Regions from separate parts of the Homo sapiens genome. Here region 1 is linked to region 2. The links are contacts of gene promoters, found by promoter capture Hi-C in blood cells and fetal thymus (Javierre and others, 2016). All regions are on one chromosome and are shown on one strand. The core of a region is centred on a gene start or on the middle of the fragment in contact, and the rest is flanking DNA. Distances in the headings are between cores, read along the strand shown.

Evidence for each region. The method cuts DNA at HindIII sites, captures the fragments that hold promoters and counts their contacts. A CHiCAGO score of 5 or more calls a contact.
Region 1: a contact is called between a fragment that was not itself captured here and the fragment with the promoter of C14orf132 in region 2, in 2 of 17 cell types (endothelial precursors and naive B cells). The highest score is 8.3, in endothelial precursors.

Annotation. Positions count from the first base shown.
Region 1 is chr14:95,561,064-95,565,572 of GRCh38, forward strand. No RefSeq gene overlaps it. Among named protein-coding and RNA genes, the nearest start is that of LINC02318, 10 kb to the right of the region's middle. The HindIII fragment of the contact is 1,130 bases long and covers 1,684-2,813 here.
Region 2 is chr14:96,036,978-96,041,814 of GRCh38, forward strand. C14orf132 (chromosome 14 open reading frame 132) reads left to right here and starts at 2,385. Exons shown (of 2, transcript NM_001252507.3): 1 at 2,385-2,550. The coding sequence starts at 2,524. RefSeq lists silencers at 2,235-2,424, 2,445-2,494. The HindIII fragment of the contact is 11,225 bases long and covers 1-3,579 here.

The DNA.
Region 1 (4,509 bases), core at 999-3,498, 480 kb before region 2:
GTCATATCATGGGAAACCAGCAGATGGCGCTGCTTCTCCGGGAATGAGCCCCGTTATTGCAGGTGGCCTCCATCTGGCTCCCTTCTGCCTGCAGGTGCACTTCTTATGCTTCGCCACCACGCGGAGCCGCGTTCTGCACTCTCCACCTTCCCTAAGTAAATTCTCTATGTGAAAAACAAATCAGGGAGATTTCTCTATGTCCCCAGGTAGAGCCCGAGTCCCGTACATTCCACATTTTTTCTGACCTTGCATCCTTCCCATCATTTCAAGGGCCCGAGGGAGAGCGTTTGGGCTCCAGACAACACAATCATATCAGAAACGTCGAATGTGTCCACATCCATTTTTTTTTCTCTCTGGAAATGCTCCCTTTAATAGGCCAGAATAGGGCTTCGAGCTGTCCTAGAGAGAGGGGCAGGAATTTGGGCACTGAAGACCAGAATCAGAACCTGGCTCCCATTTACCTTGGACAAACCACTCAAGCTCTCGGAGCCTCAGTTTCCTCATCGGTAAAAAGGAGAAAATAATAGTGCCTCCTATCAAAGAATAAATAAAAGACATAGGTAATATAATAAGCCAATTAATTTGCTTATCTATGAGGGAAACAAATGATAGATTGACTTCTACATGGGTAGGATTTATATAGGAGACACAAGAGAGAGGGAAAAAGGCAAAAATTGAAAAATCCCAGACAGTTGGGGGTAGCCAACTTTGTTTTCCTTTCCTTAGTTGGGATGTGGAGTAGGTGGTATTCAAAGTATCCTCCCCTTGGGCTGCGGGTGGTCATCAAAGAAGGTAATCTCAATTGTTTAAGGACTCCCCAAGAGCTTGTGGGTTTGACTCTGCCATATTCAAGACAGGCTATCCCTGCGCTGTCTGTCAGGGTCCTTTGATAGCACCTTCATTTCCCACCTGACTGAAGACTCTAAGAATACACATGATATTGTGCTGGAAAATGTGACACGCCGCACACAAATTGCAATTTCCAAGTAGTTCATTGTCGAAAGCTGCTGCCAAATTGGTTGCCACAGCCAGACACCTGGAAACCCCATTTGCCTCCTTCTTCCAATCCAAACAAGTCCTGTTGGTATCTGCCCCCAAATATCTCTTGAATTGCATTTCTTCTCTCCACACCAACCCCTTACCATACCCCGTATTTCCTAACTAGCCCCACCTGTCCATTACCCGTGCTTAAGAAACCACACACCTGTAACTCATCCTGGATTCAACTATGCAGTGGTTCCCTTTGTGCCAGAAAGCTCAGGACGACCCCGGCAGTAGCTGCTGAGGCCCTGTGGCTCTGGGCCCACTCTGGTGATGTCTTCTTTGGCTGTCTGTGCTCCCTCACATTCAGCTGCTTTCATTCTCCTGCAGGCTCCAGGCTCTCTCATCCCTTGGGTCTAAAAAATGCTGTCCTCTTTGGGAGCTCATTCCCTCTCTTTGAACCTTCTCTCATCCAGATAAAAGTACTCATCCCATGGGGCTCAGCTGAAAACACCTGTCTCCGGGGAGGCCTGCCTGACCCCCTAGCATAGGTCACATCTCCCTATCCTGACGTGTGTCTCCTGGGTCCCCATCCCTTCACTATCTCAGCCCTTGGGAGGTCACTTGTCGCCTCCACTAGAATGAAAATTCCCAGAGGGACCTGGCATAGCCAAAGCAGTAGGAGTGGAGGGGGAAGGTGGAAGCTTTGCTTTGCTGTAAAATCAGGCTCAATGTGGCGTCTTCCTCCAAGTCTTGCCTGGTCCATCTAGATAAAACCTGCTGCCTCTCTCCTCTGAAATCCTACTCGCTCTGTATGACCAGCCCGACATCAGGCTTAGCTGTATGAGTGTTGTGAACACTACTGGATTGTAAGAGCTCTAGGAAAGCACCATTGCACAATGGTTAGGAGAATGGCTTAGGAGCAGCGAGCCTGGGTTCGAGTCCTGCACCCCTCCTATTAGCTGAGTGATCATAGGCAAAGTACACATGGCCTCAGAGCCCCAGGCTTTGTCATGGTACAGACGCACTCACAATACCTGTTGTGAGGACCAAGGACGTAACACATCAAGCCCAGCCCTGTGGGCACTTTCTGCAACAATCAGACTGATCACGGGCTGCCACTTCATTTGCATGGGGTGAACACCAAGTGGCCAATGGGAAACCTCCAGTGGGTGGGTACTTGGACCTCAGAAGATTCTGTAACAGGGCCCTTGAGCCGCTGCTCTGGTCACTCCCACCCTGTGGAGTGTACTTTCACTTTCAATAAATCTCTGCTTTCATGTCTTCATTCTTTCCCTGCTTTGCTGTGCATTTTGTCCAATTCTTTGCTCAAAATGCCAAGAACCTGGACAACTTGCAGTCAATATCCTTTACTGGGCCGGGCACGGTGGCTCACGCCCGTAATCCCAGCACTTTAGGAAGCCGAGGCGGGCGGATCACCTGAGGTCAGGAGTTCAAGACCACCCTGGCCAACATGGTGAAACCTCGTCTCTACTAAAAATACAAAAATTAACCAGATAGTGGATGCCTATAATCCCAGCTACTCGGGAGGCTGAGGTAGAAGAATTGCTTGGACCCAGAGGCAGAGGTTGCTGTGAGCTGAGATCGCGCCATTGCACTCCAGCCTGGGCGACAGATCAAGACTCCATCTCAAAACAAACAAACAAACAACAAAAAAAAATCCCTATTGGTAACAAACTGAGTGTGAAGCCTAGCAAAGGTACGCAGTAAATACTGAATGAGTGAGTGAACGAATAAAAAGAAAATCACAGCAAATCATCACTTTTATTTGGTGACTCAGTTCTTAATAACAGGCCAATTTTAAAAACTTAAGCTTAGAAAAAGAAGTGCCTTGTCTAAGGTCCTTGAGCTAGTTCCAACCCAATGGGGCCGAGACCTGCCGGTGGCTGCACACTTGCTGTTAGTTCTCCCCACGCTGCCATGTCCCCAGAAAGGACACCCGTGAGGCTGAGCTTTGCTGAGAAGGTGCCCGGGATATCTCATGGGCAGGGAGTGGTAGGGGTAGACCCTCCCAGTCCTTCCAAATGCCCGTGGAAATCTGCTGGCAGCTGCAAAGGCCTGGCCCAGACACCCTCAGAGATGTTGGTTAATGTGTGGGATTCAGAGGCCCAGGTGTCAGGGAAAATAAAGACAAGGATGCTGGCTGGCTGCCTTCCTCCTTGGCAGTTTGCAAAGTCAATGAGTCAATGTCCCAGAACAGGGCCTTTGGGGAGAAAAGTAGCCAGCTGCGGCTGTGTCCCTGCTGGGAGTGGCTTGCTGAGAACAGTCTTGCTAACCAGCTTCTGTTGGGTTGTGCTGTGTTTGTGGGGTCAGAGTGATGATGGTGTTATTGGCGTCACAAAAAACTGCATGTGGGGGTGCGGTCTGAGCCCCAGGGTCCAAGCTCACTGCTGTGCCGCCATGGTGATCGAGCATCGCGGGTTCCCCTCGCTGTGGGTTTGGGATCAGGCAGTACCTGGTATGGTGCTTGTCTCTTACTGTGAGACCCTGGGCAAACCTGCCCCTCCCTTCTACTCCACAGGCCTTTTCACCTGTCAGAGGGGAGAAGAGTAACATCTGGTTGGGCACAATGCCTCACATCTGTAATCCTGACACTTTGGGAGGCTGAGGAGGGTGGATTGCTTGAGCTCAGGAGTTCAAGACCACCCTGGGCCACATAATATGACCTTGTCTCTAATAATAATAAATAAATAAAATAAAAGAGTAGGCCAAGCACAGTGGTTCACACCTGTAATCCCAGCACTTTGGGAGGCTGAGGTGGGTGGATCACTTGAGGTCAGGAGTTCGAGACCAGCCTGGCCAACATGGTGAAAACCCATCTCAACTAAAGATTTTTAAAAATTAGCCAGGTGTGGCCAGGTGTGGTGGCTCACGCCTGTAATCCCAGCACTTTGGGAGGCCGAGGTGAGCGGATCACGAGGTCAGGAGATCGAGACCGTCCTGGCTAACATGATGAAACCTTATCTCTACTAAAAATACAAAAAAAATCAGCCGGACGTGGTGGCGGGCACCTGTAGTCCCAGCTACTTGGGAGGCTGAAGCAGAAGAATGGCAGAACCCAGGAGGCGGAGCTTGCAGTGAGCCAAGATCGCACCACTGGACTCCAGCCTGGGCAACAGAGTGAGACTCCGTCTCAAAAAAAAAAAAAAAATTAGCCAGGTGTGGTGGTGTGCATCTGTAATCCCAGCTACTTAGGAGGCTGAGGCAGGAGAATCGTTTGAACCCGGGAGGGGGAGGTTGCAGTGAGCCGAGATCATGCCACTGTACTCCAGCCTGGGCAACAGAGCAAGATTCCATCTCAAAAAAAAAAAAAAAAAAAAAAAAAAAAAAAAAAAAAGAGTAATACCTAAGGGAGTATTTGTGAGTTTTAAAGAAAAAAAAAATGCATGTAACATGTCCAGAACAGAACCTGGTGCATTGGAAGCTCTGAATAAATATTATCTTATATCATCATCATCATCATCATTAAGTGGGAACAATTGTTGAGAAATTGATATCAATTGTTTG
Region 2 (4,837 bases), core at 1,135-3,634:
AATAAAAAAATAAGCAAAATTTTAAAACAAGCACAAAAGACCTGGTGAAAGGCATTTCTCATCAAAGGAAATGAAACTGATCAATAGATGTATAAAAGATGCTTAATGTCATTAGTAATCAGAGAAATGAGGATCAAATCCAAATGAAACACTACTTCATCATATCATATTTGCAAAACTTAAAAAAAAATCCTAACAATACAAAGTGTTGGTCAATTGTGGAGCAATAAAAACCCATGCCTACTATAGGTAGGATAATAAAATGGATGAAGCCTCCTTGGAAATCAGAAACTGGAAAGCAATGGGCATCAATTAGTAAAAGCACAGATGAGCTGACCACAATACCCAACTGTTCCATTCCTAGCGTATTCCCTGAGGACCCCTTGCACCTGTGCATCCAAAGACAAGATCGAGAGTATTCACAGCAGCATTTTTTTTTGGCGTTATCAGAAAACCTGGAGATGACCAAAGTATCCATCAAAGGGCTAGTGCATCAATAAAAACTGTGATAAGGACATACAAATGGAATATTGTGTAGCACTGAAAAACAATATACGTCAACTACACAAATAATGCTGAGAAAACAACAAAGAAGACATGGAAGAGCAAATTTAGAGCAATTTAATTTTTCTACAAAGGGTTAAAGCAGGTAATCTATAAAGGTAAAACTATAAAGAAAAGCAAGAGAATTGACAAGAGTGAATACTAAATAGGATGGAGGTGACCCTGGAAAGGGGGCAGGTAGGAGATGCCTTTGGAGAGATACACAGTAGGACTTCACGACTGTTTTTTATTGTTCCACTTTTTAACCTATGCAAGGCTATATTATTTTTCAAATTGCACACACACAACCTATACGCCCTTTTATTGTGAAGTATGCCGTGTACATAATATTTCTTACAGCAGACGGGGAGCCCTGGGCAGTTCTGGGCAGGCTGCTTTGCTATTGGCCACAGGAAGGGTGGGAGGAGGTGGGCGGCTCTTGGCATGGACTGTTTGGGCAGGCCCCGTGTGGACTAGGCTGGGAGGTGGCAGGAATGATGGGTGTGGTGAGTGCAGTACTGGCTAAAAACAGGGAGGGAAGGGAGGGCCAGGGAACTGGAGGGTTTAGAGACCAGAGGAGGAAGGGAGGAGGCAAGCATGACAGGAAAAGTGAAAAGAGAAAAGAAAGAAAAAAGTGGGGGGAAGGGGAGAGAAGGAGAGAAGGAAGAGGAGGAAGAAAAGGAGGGAGAAAGGAAGGGAAGGAAAAGAAAAGAAAGGAAAGTTACAGGAAAGATAACACTGAAAGCCTTCTGTAGGTCAGTGAGGTTCTGGTCCCATTCCCATAGCCACAGTCCCTACTGGGCCCCCAGCTGCCGGGGGACCTTGAACAAACCCCTCCATCTCCCTGTGCCACAGCTTCCTTGCCTGTGACAAAGTCTGGGAGTCCCAGGCTGCCCCTCACAGAGGCTCGTGATGACCATGAGTGTAAAGTACCTGGAAGAGACATCACCCAAAGGGACCAGTCGTACTCACTGAGACTCCTTAGAGTACAGCTGGTTCCCTCCCAGTGAGCCCCCGGAGGGCAAAGCCTCCACGTGTCACCAAGTCTGTGGTGTCCACCACACACACACACACACACACACACACATACAGAGCAATGGGCCCCTGTGGGCGTCTCTTCTGTTCCCCTTACTTGAACTGTGGCACCTGCATGATTTTCGATACTGGTTTGAGCTGAGAGCCATGGAGTACCCGCTGTGCAACCTGAGCACCGTGCGGTCCTCGAAGACACCACTCACAGCCTCGTCTCTATTGGATGATTAGCCATGTTAGGGCTCTCATTTATTGAGGACACCGCGTGCTATATTCCCTATCTCATTTAATTATTCGGTTCTGTATTCTCTTTTCACAGATGAGGAAATCTAGGCTCAAAGACACTATCTTGCTCAAGCTGCACAACAAAGCAGGGCTAGGATTAAACCTCGTTCTGCCCAGATGCCGAGCCGGGAGTACACCGGACTCTGGGAGGAGCGTTGGCGTGGAAAGCCAGGTCACTCCGATCTTGGTCCTCAGGCTCGGGATAACGTGTCAGCCCCAAGAGAGCGCTGCCCACAGCCCCGGGTGGGTTGGGTTCAACTGCACGGGGCGGGGCGCCAACAGCTCAGGACTTGGGTTGCAGGCTGGTTCTTGCACCAACCAGCGGGGCGGCCTCGGGCCTCAGTTTCCCCATCCCGCCCACGAAGGGAGGCGATTGCGAGCGCTTGGGGTTTCTGACGGACCCCGCCCCGGGGGTGGGGCGGGGAGTGGTCACGTGGAGGGGCGCCCCGTCCGCCGAGCCCCGCCCCACCCCGCCCCGCCCGCCCCCGCGCTCGGGGCCCTCCGCCTAGTAGAGATCTGGAGCCAGAAGCCCAGAGACAGCCGAGTGCGCCGTGCGGTCTCCGGACGCTCGCTGCTCAGCCCGATCCCCGCCAACTGTGCAGGCGGCTGACCCGCAGCGGCAGCGGCAGCAGCGAGGACTCGAGCGCTGGCTGCAGCGACACCATGGATCTCTCCTTTATGGCCGCGCAGGTAACGGGGCGTCCCCCCCACGCGCCCCGGGCCGCCAAGTTTGGGGAGGTTCGGGGCCACGGTCTCGCCCTCCACGCTGGGGCTGGGCAGTGGCGCCCGCCCGCGATCCGCGTCCCGGTCCTTTGTCCCGAGCCGGACACCCCCACTTGGTGCACGCGTCGGGGGCGGCGATCGCGGCTCTCCCGGGGTGGGGCGGGCTGCGCGCCCCGCACCCCCGCGGCTCGAGCTGTTCCCGCCCGGGCCCCTCTCGTTGGCAGGAAGGCTGCGAGGAGCCTGGGCAGCCCGAGTCGCCCCCTTCTGCCCATCCCCCACTGCTGTCCCCCTTCTGGGGTCCCGGAGCCCTCCAAGGCCGGGCCAGCTCAGACCCGCGCGAACGTGGATGGGCACACAGTCTCGCCCTTCCCCACTCTGTTTTCCCGAGGCGCCAGTAATCTGTCTCTTGCCGGTGACCTCGGGCGCCCCCTTTGCCGCCGCCTGAGGAAGGCTCTGAGACCCGCTTTGTGACCGTGACCCGCCAAGCGTCGACGCGCCGCGGTCGTTTGTCCTGTTTTGCTTTGTGTAGAGTCTGATGGAGCCACCAGTGCCCAGCGCGGCCAGAACCCCCCCACCCCCCTCCCCGACACAAACAGGCTCCCAGTGGCCGGAAAAACAAATCTCTCACAGCTTGAATTTTCCTCCGGCAGAATGCCCTGGAGTTCTGAGCTTGGGTGATGATTCTATTTCTGTGCCTTAACTCTCTTGAGCCAGAACAAAGACAAATCCCGGATTTCTCCATCAGTCTGTGACCCTAGAGAAGACCCAGAGCTGGCTCCAGGGAAGGGCTGCGTTTGGCCTGGGAGAGTAAGTCCCAATCTACCAAAGCCACATCTTGCACCTTCTCTGGTTGTGTTGGTTGGTTATGGTGGGAGCAGAGAGGTCGGGAGGCCACCCAGGCTCCCTTCTGTCTCCAGGGTGTGTGGCAGGGACCCCATCTGCTGCTGTTTTCTTTTACAGGGAACGAAGTTTGAGGGGACACTTGCTTTTTCCCCAAGCTTCACCTGTAGTGGAAGCCTGTTTAAAAAGTGACAGCAAAATCCAGACTGTGTGTGGACAGCGAGTCTGCAAATGGAGGCTTAAAAGATGCGGAAGCCCCAAGTTAGTTCTGGGGGTCTAGATCCTGGCTCTCCGGCAGCCCCTTAAGTTTTCCATGATGCTAATTGCCCTTCTGAGTATCGCTGGCCCTTTTTTTTTTGCCTGATTTTACATCTCCTGTGCCTAAATCCATACTTATAAAAATTGTCATGTAAACATCATTTTAGATAATGATGGTTTTAGCTACATGAAAACTAAGGAGGCTTTCCAGGATTTATTTCTAGACTGGAGAAGAACTGTGTCTGCCTTCCCCTCTGGATCCCACTGAACCTCCGGAATTTCCATGGTTAACAAGATAAACTGATCCCTGCTAACCCTGGAGCTGGCTGGAGCATCAGTTGCTGCCATGGCAACTTGACGAAATAAATACAGGGCTTTTTAACGTCTTCAGGCAGAATCTGCCCAGAGACCAGGTTCCTATTTTTCCTTTTTTGTTTACAATTCACATTCCACTCGGTCAATGTATTCTCCTTGACACATTTTTGACACTGGTTACATGCGCAGTACTGTGCTAGCTGCAAGGAACAGAAACATGAAGTACCACACATATGAGAACAGACGCTAAGGTTTGTTGAGCACCTACTATGTGCCAGACGCTGGGTGCTTGGCATATTTTATCACAGCAAATCCTTACAAGTCCATGACGGAGGCCCCATTTTACAGGTCAGGACACTAAACGAGATTAAATAATTTGCCCAAGAGCATGCCATTTGCAAGGAGGAGAACTGGATTTCACATCTGGGCCTGAGTATCTGCAAAGGGTTTTCCACCTTATTGCTTCATCCTGAGAAAGATACGATGTAAGGTACAGGACAGATCTATTTCAGAATGATTTCTCTCTTCTCTTCCCTCTGGGAAGTGGGCTTACTATTGTGCCTTTCTAGTAGATTGCTTTCTGCTGTTGATTCATCCCATTATCCCCATAAGGATGGGAACTGTTACTTCCCTACCTGCAATACTTCGCAGTGCTTGGCTGGAGCAAGTGCTCAGACCCTGCTCCTGGTGTGTCCTGTGGCCACCAGGTGTGTGTGACAGTCACTGTCTCTCTGTGCAGTCTTTCCCTCAGCAGGGGGCAGTTTGCAGCGAAATGTTGGTGCATCCATCCACTTGCTCAGCAAATGTCTAGTACCTGCCTTGTGACAAGCTCCGTATCAGG